Regions from separate parts of the Homo sapiens genome. Here all the other regions are linked to region 3. Evidence: promoter capture Hi-C in 16 types of primary human blood cells and fetal thymus (Javierre and others, 2016). All regions are on one chromosome and are shown on one strand. The core of a region is centred on a gene start or on the middle of the fragment in contact, and the rest is flanking DNA. Distances in the headings are between cores, read along the strand shown.

Region 1 (4,431 bases), core at 626-3,125, 290 kb before region 3:
GAAGTTCACATTTATTTAGGACAGATTAAATGACAAAGGTCTCCAGTAAACACCACTAAAGGGTGATTAACGTTGCCGACCTCCCTAGTAGAGAGCAGTCATGTGCCCACAGATGATCACAGGTTGTTGGTCTTAGGACCACATGAGTAAGCTATTTAGATAAACTCCTCTACATTCCTGTGTATCTATACCCCAAGCTTTTAAGAGAATTCAGCTGCCTTCAGCCAAATCTTTTACTGAAGCTATGCAAACCTCCTGGCCTTCCAAGAAGGTTCGTGTCTATTTCCTATAACTTTATCTTTATAATTACTCCCACCACCTTGATCGATCCCCTACATCTGCTCATGAGTATTGTCTTGTAGCTGTTTTCCAGATGTCTTGGAATGGGGAGAATATTCAGTTAAAATGTTCTATATAATAAACCAACCCCAAATATGTATGTGTAGCTGGAAGATCTCCTTCCAATTAAGTACCAACGATTTTAGTAACCATCTTTCTCTTTCTCCCTTCCTCAAATATTTATGAAATATCTATGTTGTGGTAGACATAGTATCTTGTTAATACCTTGATAATAAGACAGTTCCTGCTCACATAGAGCTTACGATCTTATAGAAGAAACATCCATTACATTAAAAAATATGCAAATTGTTACCAATTACAATTGTGATAACTGAATCAGAGGAGTACAGAGAATTGTAGGAATGAATTGTATGATAAGAAGTCCCAACCCAATCTTGAGAGAGGGAGGATCAGATCAGGTTTCCCTGAAGAAGCATTTAGGATCGAATGAAAATAACTAATAGGAGTTGGTCAGATTTCTTCAGGGTGGAGGGAAGGCAGGGATGTGGCAGACAGTTCTGGGCAGAAGGAACCACAGCAGGAAGCACTTAGAGGAAGATTGCCTGGGCAGTGGGGATTTGGTGATTAAGAGGGAAGGTGTGTGTGTGTTGGGGGAGATGGGTCTGGGATTAGTGGCAGGGACCAGATTATGCAGAACCTTGCAGATCTTGGGGAGATTTTGGACTTTAGCAAGGACTGAAGCAATTTTGAGAACCCAGATGCTCAGCCTTGAAGGGAAGAACCATCTTCAGGAGACTTCATGTCCTTGGTCTGGGAATAGCTTTCCTTTGCTTCTATGTGTGGAACCACATTGTACTCACAAAGTTGTCTTGTAAAGAGATAGGGAAGTAGGTTGGAGCTATGTTTTCCTTATTAGGATATGACATTTTAAAAATGTCGACAAAAATAGAAATACCTAGAGGATGAAAGTGTCTTTCCCCCTGGAAAAACATGCCATTTCATTGCTTTTTTATTGAGTACTATTGGAAAGTAAATGAAGGCAAGAAATGCAATCTGATGTCTCATTATCAGTGCTCAGGGGAGAGATTTCTCCTAGACAGCACATTTCCGAGCCTAGGTAGAGATGAAAATTAGATAAAGCTCAGTGATCCAGATGTTACAACTGTAAATTATAAAAAAATACATTTTCAGGAGATTTAAACTTCTTTCCTGAAGTTAGGGTGGGAAAAAAATGAAAAACTTTGGAGAGGGTTCTATAAGGAGGTGTACATTTAAAAATGTGTATTGTTTGTTAACATAATCATGGGTTAATTAGGAAGACTTTCCGTTGAACAGATCTAAAGCATGGTAAAGGGGATTTAATTTGTTCATATTTTCCTGTATATTTTCTCAGACATAAAATCTAAATTTTATATTTCCATGTATAGCCAATATTCATATTTATGAAACAGATTTGCAGCAATGTTCTCAAGCAAGAAGGAAAAGTTAAAGTGTGTTAAAGCTCACCATTACATTTGTTATACAATGTTATAGGAGGGAAAAGAAGGCAATGTCAAAATATTTCATGGAGACTGTAGTCTGTCACACAATCAAAATTGAAGTGGCGACATAAGCCAGCCTACTTGCTATTCTGAGAACGCTCAGGGTATGGATTCTAGCACATCTAGCAAATATGAGTGATCAGAAATTGTACCAAGCCCTGCCCGACTGAGGTTTGCCAATCTCTGCTTTGACCTCCCCAGCCAGCTACTACAATGACCAATATGAACATGGACTGCTTTAAGCATCCAACCATTACTGCCATCTGGACTAGGAAATAGCATCTAGTAAAAATTTTCATGACAGAAGCCATGCCCAAGTCTAAAGGGTATCAAGAACCTATGTATTCTTTTATCTGCTATTATGGAAAAATGTGATGTAGTCTTTCTGTTGTTCTTCATGTAGTATTTTACTGGAGTCATGACCAAGTAAACATTATACTATTCAAACAGTAAACAGATTTAAACAGTAATTCTCGTTCTATTTGGGTATCATAAACCCTTTTCAGAAACTAACAAAGGTTGTGGTATTTTCCCCATAGAAATGTACACAAAACCAGAATTGTGCATTCTTCCTCAAGGAAGGAAACTCATGACTTTCAATCCATGGACTCCAGAACCCTCAGTTAATACCCTTGGGTAAAAGGAAGACTCAGTAACAATTCTTATGAAAATTAGATGGCTCCATTAGCATTATAAAAGTTAAAACTTGAGTCTCTGAAATTTCAACCATGGCCTGCATATTTATTTATCCTAGAACCTTGCAGGGCACTTGGATTGATTTTTAGGAGGAAAAATCTGTAGACTGGCCTCCTAACAGTAGGTCTAGATATGCCCAGAAATAAAAAGGAAGCTGTAGCCTGCAGCATTTACCAAAGAGACCAGGGTGTGAGGGGAACCCAAATTTGGAGTTTCTTGCTAATATGGGGTTCTGTTTCCTAGAAGTTGATTTCTGTTTCCTTCTTATGCATTCTTATATGAGACTCTTCTTTGGGTCTGGGCCTTTCAGAAGCGAGATTCCTTTGCCAGAGACTGAGATATCTAATAGAAGCTCTCTCTGATTATCCTCCTCAGTTGTCAACATTTGCTGACTGCCGCCTACACACATAAGGAATTGAAAATCTGTTCTAGATTCTGGGAACCCAATACTCCTGCACTCCAGAGATTTTTTCTCTTAGATGGGGAGGTAGCATATATATGTAAAAGATAAATGTCACTACCAGGTAGCACAGACATTCCACTTTTAAGTAAATAAAACCATGGGAATCCCTGTGTCTTGGGAGATAAATACAGAGGCTTAATGACCTCATTTGCGACAACTGCTTGAACAATTGGTCTGGTTTGCACCAGCAGTAGTGTACTCTCAGCTCTCTGTTCACTTCTTCTCATTGATTTCATGGCCATCTTATAAATGTGCTGGGAAATGTAGAAGCCTGCAGTCTGAAATCACCGTGAAGAAAGAGCTTTGTTAGAGGGCAGTTCTCAAACCTGAGAGGTGGTGGATGATTCAGAAGGATATGGATCTGTGCTTGTGCACTCTGGGCTTTGATAAATGGAAGCACAAACGATTGCTTCCTTTAAAATAAGCCAACCACAGGCCTAACTTATAGCTCCTTGCCTGGAAGCCCGATTCTCTGCTTGGGGCAGCAGCCTATGAAAAGGAAGCTGGGTAGAGCTGAGGGTGGAATGTGAACACCTCTTGGACTGAAGCTTGTTGTACAGAAGGCCAAGGAGACTGAGCTGCTGCTGGGGCTGACTCCTCATGTCCTGCCAGCTGGGCCATGCTTGGGAGCTAAAAAGGCACACAGTAGTTCCCCACATGATACTGGGAACATTTGAGGAGTGGTGGGTAGGAACGGAGATGTCTAATAGGATGGATGGAGTAGAGCCCAGGCACCAGGGACGGGCTGTTCATGAGCCTTTCATTGCAAGATACAGGAGCTCAACTCTTCCTGGATTAGGCTTCAAAGGAGAGTGTATTGGTCACACCTGAAAAGACCCAGAGCAGGCTGGATCCAGGCCTCAGTCATCAGGTCTCTGTCTTTACCCCACCACCCCCTGCCACCTTTCTTTCTTTCCTTCTCCCAGAATTGCTTCGCTTTGGACATCTCTCTCAGGCAGACTCTCTACTGGTGGCTGTCAGCATCTCTAGGCACACATCCTCCTCACAGCTGTGCCTGCCTGTGGGAAAGACCATGCTTGGCAGTGAGTGACATTGGGAGTGATTTGGACCCTCACTCTGTCCACTGTGGCCAGGGGGTGCTTTGGACAGGTCATGTGTGTCTTTTGGAACCCAGAAGTGAGGGGCATTCAATCCAAACACTGTGGGCTGAGAGTGGGAGAGAGGTGGGTCTTTAAAGGCAAATCAAATTGCTGTGGGCAGGCAGATATTTCCAGTGCCCGCGTGGGGTTTGGTCAATAAGCAGCAGTGGGGAAGATGAATAATCAGCCATCCAGAAAATCTATCTATGAGCTGCTGGACTCAGCTGCTGGTCTGAAGCACTGCCTTGGAGAGGGAGACTGTTTTTCTGTGTTTTTAATATAAAACGAGCATAGAGTATGGAATTTTAAAGTGTATATCAACTAGGTTTTT
Region 2 (4,001 bases), core at 1,187-3,686, 270 kb before region 3:
TTTTAAAAACTAAATAAGGCTCTGGTGAGTTCTGTGACCCAGGAATGTCTTTCTCAAGGATCAGAGAACAGAGAACCATCTTTTTGAAATGCAATCAAGGAAGATAGTGCCCCTATCTTCCAGTTTTTGTGGGAGGGTAGCAGCCTAACTTCAGTGGGGGATTCTTAGTTCCTAAATTACCTTCTGTCATAGAGATAGGAGAAGTTAATTTTTCCTTTGGGTAAAGCCAATTAGTAACACACATGGTCACCCCAATACCAGGCTAATTTAGGATGAACTGTGCATGACAAATGGTGCTGTCAAGTCCCCTTCCTTGAGGACTAGTCATTGTTTATCTTGAGAACATGTATGTATGGGTTGTATCTGCTTGGCTATATAAATATAAAAAGGGTACGATTTCTTTCTGTCTTTGTAATCTCTTAGCAGATTGCCTGTGATGTATGATATTCTGCTTTGATGCTTATTCAATAATAAAATTGTATTCTTTCTCTTCTACCTTTGTGGAGAAGTTTTCTGGGTTGGGAAAAGATTTTGTTTTTAATTATATGCACTCAACACTTACTAGATATGTGATTTGGGGTAAGTTTCTGAATCTCTTTGCACCTCAGTTTCCTTATCTATTAATTGTGGATAATAGTATCTATTATTACTGTTGTTTATAGAATTATTGTGAGGATTGGATGACTAAATATACATAAACTGCTTAGAACAGAGCCAGGTACTATAATAGTAAGCACCATATATTACTTATTATTACTATAAGAGAAATTTTGCTTGTTTTAAATTCTGGTTCCTTCTCAACTACAGTGTATTCCCAGGGATATTTCAAGAGCAAACATAAATAATATTAATATAGGGAATCCCCTAGCAAGATAAGAAATCTCAACTTAAACTCCACCATCCACATGTATTTATGGAGTTACTTTCCCTAAATTTGAGAAACGTGTTTAAAAAAATTACTCTTCTAGTGAGTAATTCTTTCTTAATTTCTTTCATTCTTTCATAATGACTCATGAAATCCAAATCTGTACCATGCTATGAGTACCTGCATGATCTGGCCTCTGCCTCCTTCTTCAACCTGAACCTCTTGACTATTCTCGTCCCTCCCACCTTCTATGAGAAGTAGGCATACTGACATTCTTTAGGTTCCTCTAATGGTCAAGCTTGTTCTCACTTCAGGGTCTTTGCGCTTGCTTTCCCTTCTGCTTGCAAAGTGCTTATTTCAGATATTTGATTGCTGGCCCCTTTCTATTGCCAGGTGGGAGATAAAGTAACCCCTTCTCATAGAAGCTTCTCCTAAACCTCACCAGCCGCCCATGCTCTTTCTTGCTTCTGCTGTTTTATAGCACTTGTCTCTGTCCGAAATTCTCGTCTGTGTTTGCTAAATCTGTGTTTACCAAAAGTAAGTTTCATGAGAGCATGGGCTTTCTTTGCTAAATCTCTGCTTCCTAGTTCAGTGCCTGGAGCATAATAACATCTCAATAAGGATGCATGAATTAGTGAGTGAATAAAATAAGCTATTCTTATCAACTAGTCCTTGACTGATTTAACAGATATTTGTTGAGTAGCTCATATACTACATACTGAGGAGATTCAGCATTTTCCATGTAAGCCTACCTATTAGTAGTGTTAAGACATATTTATGCACTTTAAAAATATAATAATAAAGCTATAAGGAAAAAGTAGAAAATGAAAATATCATTAAAGAGGAAAGCATTTTTGTGCTAAGTATTGTTCTAGGCATTTCACATAAGTTATTCTGTTTAAATTGTACTCAAGAACGCTTCCATTTTTATATCATTGTATTCATTTTTATAGAGGAGAAAAAGAAATCCAAAAGTTAAATAACTGGCTTACAGTTGCCCAGCTAGGATGTGGATGGACCAAAATTCAAACTTATATCAGCCTGACTCTAAATCTTATTTTCTTTGCATTATACTAAACATAAAAACCGTCTCCTCTCCTCTGTCAAAAACTGTGAAGGGTCTGAAATGTTATTATACTTGCAAGCTAACCAGTTAGCCACCACAGTTTCATGTATACTGACACACAACACGAAGTTCCTGGATTAGAAACAAAGGACTTTATGATTCCTGACATAACAATAATATGAGCTTCACATTCATGTTCATTCCCTCAGCCCCCAAGTCCCATGGGGCGATGCAGAGTGGCTCAGGTAGTTGCTGTACATCTGAATCACACAGAAAACTTGAGCTTAGGGAACTCAACATTTCGTAACAGGCTACAAATAAATGTGCCCTTTGCTTATCTTCATTATTTTTATTTTATTATTTTTTTATTATACTTTTAAGTTCTAGGGTACATGTGCACAACGTGCAGGTTTGTTACTTAGGTAAACATGTGCCATGTTGGTTTGCTGTACCCATCAACTCGTCATTTACATTAGGTATTTCTCTTAATGCTATCCCTCTCCCAGGCCCCCACTCTCCCACAGGCCCTGGTGTGTGATGTTCCCCGCCCTGTGTCCATGTGTTCTTGTTGTTCAACTCCCACGTATGAGTGAGAGCATGCGGTGCTTGCTTTTCTGTCCTTGTGATAGTTTGCTTAGATTGATGGTTTCTAGCTTCATCCATGTCCCTGCAAAGGATATGAACTCATCCTTTTTTATGGCTGCATAGTATCCCATGATGTATATGTGCCACATTTTCTTAATCCAGTCTATCACTGATGGACATATGGGATCATTCCGAGTCTTTGCTATTGTGAATAGTGTCACAGTAAACATACGTGTGCAAGAGTCTTTATAGTAGCATGAGTTATAATCCTTTGGGTATATACCCAGTAATGTGATCGCTGGGTCAAATGGTATTTCCAGTTCTAGATCCTTGAGGAATTGCCACACTGTCTTCCACAATGGTTGAACTAATTTACACTCCCACCGACAGTGAAAAGCGTTCCTATTTCTCCACATCCTCTCCATCATCTGTTGCTTCCTGAATTTTTAATGATCGCCATTCTAACTGGCGTGAGATGGTATCTCATTTTGGTTTTGATTTGCATTTCTCTGATGACCAGTGATGATGAGCATTTTTTCATATGTTTTTTGGCCACATAAATGTCTTCTTTTGAGAAGTATCTGTTCATATCTTTCACCCACTTTCTGATGGGGTTTTTTTTAATTGTAAATTTGTTTAAGTTCTTTGTAGATTCTGAATATTAGCCCTTTGTCAGATGGGTAGATTGCAAAGATTTTCTCCCATTCTGTAGGTTGCCTGTTCACTCTGATGATAGTTTCTTTTGCTGTTCAGAAGCTCTTTAGTTTAATTAGATCCCATTTGTCTATTTTGGCTTTTGTTGCCATTGCTTTTGGTATTTTAGTCATGAAGTCTTTACTCATGCCTATGTCCTGAATGGTATTGCCTAGGTTTTCTTCTAGGGTTTTTATGGTGTTAGGTCTTACATTTAAGTCTTTAATCCATCTTGAGTTAATTTTTGTATACGGTGTAAGGAAGGGGTCCAGTTTCAGCTTTCTACCTATGGTTAGCCAGTTTTCCCAGCACCATTTATTAAACAGGGAATCCTTCCTCCATTGCTTGTTTTTGTCAGATTTGTCAAAGCTTAGATGGTTGTAGATGTTATTTCTGAGGCCTCTGTTCTGTTCCATTGGTCTATATATCTGTTTTGGTACCATACCATCCTGTTTTGGTTACTGTAGCCTTGTAGTATAGTTTGAAGTCAGGTAGCGTGATGCCTCCAGCTTTGTTCTTTTTGCTTAGGATTGTCTTGGTTATGTGGGCTCTTTTTTGGTTCCATCTGAATTTTAAAGTAGTTTTTTCCAATTCTGTGAAGAAAGTCAGAGGTAGCTTGTTGGGGATAGCATTGAATCTATAAATTACCTTGGGCATTCTGGCCATTTTTACGATATTGATTCTTCCTATCCATGAGCATGGAATGTTCCTCCATTTGCTTGTGTCCTCTTTTATTTCATTGAGCAGTGGTTTGTAGTTCTCCTTAAAGAGATCCTTCACATCCTGTGTAAC
Region 3 (4,256 bases), core at 1,037-3,536:
ATTTTAGTTACATGGTAGGTGTTAACATTTTGCTTTGCTTATCTTTTTTACTTATAAAACTTATATAACCATTGACTATATGGAATAATATGATAATTGAAGAAAAGCCTTTAATTAATAATCAAGGAGATGGTGGCAACTGTAATCATTTCCTTTAAACCTGTATTTTAAAACGAAAAAAACTTTTAGTTGCTCATCTGTGGAAGCATACCCTTTAAAACTTCTCTCATTGAAGAACATGGATAAGAAGATCAGCTTATTGTATCTTTTTTTTAATGACCTCAAATATAGAATCGTGCCAGTGACAATGTCTTTAGGACTACACATGCTTGGAAAGGGTGTCTATGAAATAAGGACTAGCCATTTCCTTAAAGCTCTAAAGATTCAGATGAGGAAGATTAGCTCTTTAAACATACATTTTATGACATACCTGTCCAAAATCAAAATATACTATATCACATAACATATGTTTTCAACAAATATTGAATTTCAAAAGGAAATTCAATATTTCATTGAATTCCAGTGCTGTGCTGGAAGCATTCAAGCTGCCTCTACATTCCGTCTATATGATCATGTGTCATATGTTACTGGGTTTGTAACTAGAATTTTTGTATTAATGAAAGACTGGACGAAGTCTCTTCCAATGCTAAGACTTTTTGTTTCTATAAGATTATTCATTCATCACTTAGTTGTGACGGGAAGGCATTGGAAAGTGGGAAGATGAATCATTTGCATAATATGACTTTGTTTTGCTTTGCTGCTGTTGTTAAAGTAGGGGGAAAACAATTAAAAGATTATAAATGATTTATCTAAAATATATCTGGGAGTACTGTTTTAAATGTCACTAAATTCCAACAAAATGGTAAGGGTAATTTTATTAAAAGTTCCTAAAACTATATGTTTAGTACTAATTCTTATAAAGCATCATTATTGGAGTAAACTGTTGATCACTTGATATTTCACAAGTTGAATTTTTAAGGTATTTTTTAAAACTAAATGTCAGTGGAGTCCTTTCTTTAAGGGCCTTAAATCTTACATTTTCCTTATTATTAGCACCAAACAATATAATCATGATTTGTTGTGGTTTAAATTTTGTATTTGTTAAGATATATAACTAAACAGATAAACCCGATATATCAATGATTTAACCTAAGAAAAGCTGTTTTTCTTGCTCTTATTATGGTTTAATATGTGTCCGTGTTGGAGGGTGGGGCTCTAGTTCTGCTCCACACAGTCATCACGGGCCCCTAGTGTTTTTTTTCTATCTAGTGTTACTATCTCCCTTTTGGTCCTCAAAGCCTGTGGTTGACAGAGTAGAGTAAGAATCCCACATGGGAAGATTTTTATAGGCCAGGCTTAAAATTGGCACACATTACCTTTTGCATTTATATTCAGTTGACCAGAATGCAGCCAATTGACCACTCCTAATTTTAAAGGAGGCCGGAAGCTATAGCTCATATTGCCAAGCAGTAGCATTCTTGGCTATACTCTACCTCTGGTCACCAAATATGTTTCACTCTTCCTGCATATAGAAGACATTCACTCTTCTCCAAGAGAAACAGTCAAAGTCCCATCTGATCACCGTATACAGCTCTAAGTTCAGGATCTCTGAATAAAAGGATATTCTCTGTCAGGTCTGAATGTGGTTCCTTGTAGCCCTCGGAACTAAGAATCTGCCTACAGTCTCCCTATACACATCCAACATACAATGGTAGAAATCATGGGGGGCACAAGTTACTTGTCAGTATAAATTCTGAAATCCCCATGTCCATAAAGAGGCCAGATGAAGGCCTCTTAACCTGGAGAGTAGGAAAATTGTTTGATTAGAACTTTTCTGTCTGGGAAGAATCCTCTTGTTTGTTGTTCTCCGTGGCAACTGGCCCCTTAATTTGGGGATCTATTTCTTATTCATTGTCCTCTATGGCCATGTCTGAAATGGGTGTGAAGGAGCTTGCTCTCCTTGGGGATTGTACATCTTTCATATCCTGCTTCCTACTAGGGTAATGTCAGGGATCTCAAACAGCTAAGTTCTTTCTCTCAAAAACTCAGTAGGCAGTAGGCTTCTGTGTGCCAATGATCACACCCAATGATCTTGGTTTTTTAAAAAAATTTATTTTATTGTGGTAAGAACACTTAACATGAGATCTACACTCTTAACACATTTTTAGGCATATAGTACAATATTAATATAGGAGCAATGTTGTACAGCAGATCTCAAAAACGTATTCATCTTGTGTAATTGAGACTTTATGCCCATTGACTGGAAACACCCCATTCCCCACCCCTACTACCAGCCCTTGGCATCCACCATTCTACTTTCTGATTCAATGAGTTTGACTATTTTAGATATCTGATGTAAGTGAAATCATGCAGTATTTGTCCTTCTGTGGCTGGTATATAGCATAATGTCTTCAAGTTTCATCCATGTTGTCACATATTGCAGGATTTCCTTCTTTTTTCAGTCTGAATAATATTCCATTATATATATATACCACATCTTCTTTTTATGCATGCATTCATTGATGAACATTTAGGTTGCTTCTATGTCTTGGTTATTGTAAATAGTGTTGCAATGAATATGGGAGTGCTTATTTCTCTTTAAGATCCTGATTTCAGTTCTTTTAGATAAATACTAAAAAGTCAGATTGCTAAATCATATGGTAGCTCTATTTTTATTTTTTTTTAGAAATCTCCATATTGTTTTCCACAGTAACTGCACCATTTTGCATTCCCACCAACAGTGTACAAGGGTTCAGATTTCTTCACATCCTCACCAACACGTGTTGATAGTTTTCCTACCAGGTGTCAGGTGATGTCTCATTGTATTTTTGATTTTCATTCCCCTGATGTTTGGTAACAGCATCTTTTCATATACCTGTTGGCCATTTGTATGTCTTCTTTGGAGAAATGTCTATTCCAGACTTAGCCCAGTTTTAAAATCAGATTATTAGGTTTTTTTGCTATTGTGTTGTAGAAATTCCTTATATATTGGAAACTAACCCCTTATCTGATATATGATTTGCAGATATTTCCTCTAGTCCCATTTGCCTGGTTTTACTTTTGTTTCCTGTGCTTTTGGTGTCATACTCACGCAATCATTGACAAAACTAATGTCATGAAGGTTTTTCCCTGTTTTATAGTTTCATGACTTATATTTAAGTTTTTAATCCATTTGTATTGATTTATGTATATGGGGTAAGATAAGAGTCCAGTTTCATTATTCTGCATGTGAATATACAGTTTTCAAAAGCTATTCGTTGAAGACTATCCTTTCCCTATTTTGTATTCCTGGCACCCTTGTTGAAGGTCAGTTTACCATACAGGCATGGATTGATTTTCATTCTGTTCCTTGGACTATATGTCTGTCTTTTTCACAGTACCATGCTGTTTTAATTACTGTAGCTTTGTAATATATTTTGAATCAGGAAGTATGATGCCTCCAGCTTTGTTTTTCTTTCTCAAGATTTTTTTTGACTATTCGGGGTCATCTGTGGTTCCATATGAATTTTAGGGTTTTTTTTTTCTATTTCTGTAAAAAATATCATTGGAATTTGATAGAGATTTCATTGAATCTATAGATTGCTTTGGGTAGTATGTACATTTTAACAATATTCCATTTTTCAATTCATGAACACAAGATGACTTTTCATTTATTAGTGTCTTCTTTAATTTCTTTCATTAACATTTTATAGTTTTCAGTGTACAAGTCTTTTACCTTCTTAGTTGAGCTTATTTCTAAGTATTTTATTATTTTGAGGGATAATGTAGACACAATTCTTTTTCTTCATTTCCTTTTCAGATAGTTCATTGTTAGTGTATAAAAATGCAATTGATTTTGTATGTTGATTTTGTATCCTGCAATGTTACTTGACTTGCTTATTTATTCTAACAGTTTGTTGTGGAATCTTCTGTTTTTTATGTGTAAGATGACATCATCTGCAAACAGGGCCAATTTTACTTCTCCTTTTCAGATTTGGATAGCTTTTATTTCCTTTTCTTGTCCAATTCCTCTGGATAGGACTTCTAGTCCTATGTTGAATGGAAGTGGTGAGAGTGGGCATCGTGTTCCTTATCTTAGAAAAAAGTCTTTCAGTTTCTCACCATTGAGTATGATATTAGCTATGGGATTTTCACATCTGGCCTTTATTATGAGGTAATTTTCTTCTCTTTTTAGTTTGTTAGAGAAAATACAGTTGTGCTACATGGCCAGGAAGAAGAGGAAACACACATCAGTGAGGGGTAACAATCTCAACCAT

Evidence for each region. Contacts are between HindIII fragments. The CHiCAGO score rates a contact against its expected background, and 5 or more counts as called.
Region 1: a contact is called between a fragment that was not itself captured here and the fragment with the promoter of MCTP1-AS1 in region 3, in 6 of 17 cell types (M2 macrophages, megakaryocytes, erythroblasts and 3 more). The highest score is 9.3, in M2 macrophages.
Region 2: a contact is called between a fragment that was not itself captured here and the fragment with the promoter of MCTP1-AS1 in region 3, in 6 of 17 cell types (M2 macrophages, megakaryocytes, endothelial precursors and 3 more). The highest score is 8.2, in M2 macrophages.

The regions. Positions count from the first base shown.
Region 1 is chr5:95,264,357-95,268,787 of GRCh38, reverse strand. All of the region lies in intron 1 of MCTP1 (multiple C2 and transmembrane domain containing 1), which reads left to right. Among named protein-coding and RNA genes, the nearest start is that of MCTP1, 19 kb to the left of the region's middle. The HindIII fragment of the contact is 3,351 bases long and covers 200-3,550 here.
Region 2 is chr5:95,248,455-95,252,455 of GRCh38, reverse strand. All of the region lies in intron 1 of MCTP1 (multiple C2 and transmembrane domain containing 1), which reads left to right. All of the region lies in intron 6 of LOC105379085 (a long non-coding RNA gene), which reads right to left. Among named protein-coding and RNA genes, the nearest start is that of MCTP1, 35 kb to the left of the region's middle. The HindIII fragment of the contact is 2,288 bases long and covers 1,293-3,580 here.
Region 3 is chr5:94,976,728-94,980,983 of GRCh38, reverse strand. MCTP1-AS1 (MCTP1 antisense RNA 1) reads right to left here and starts at 2,286. Exons shown (of 2, transcript NR_189169.1): 1 at 1,377-2,286; 2 at 91-160. The region is part of intron 2 of MCTP1 (multiple C2 and transmembrane domain containing 1); the gene reads left to right. The HindIII fragment of the contact is 7,189 bases long and covers 1-4,256 here.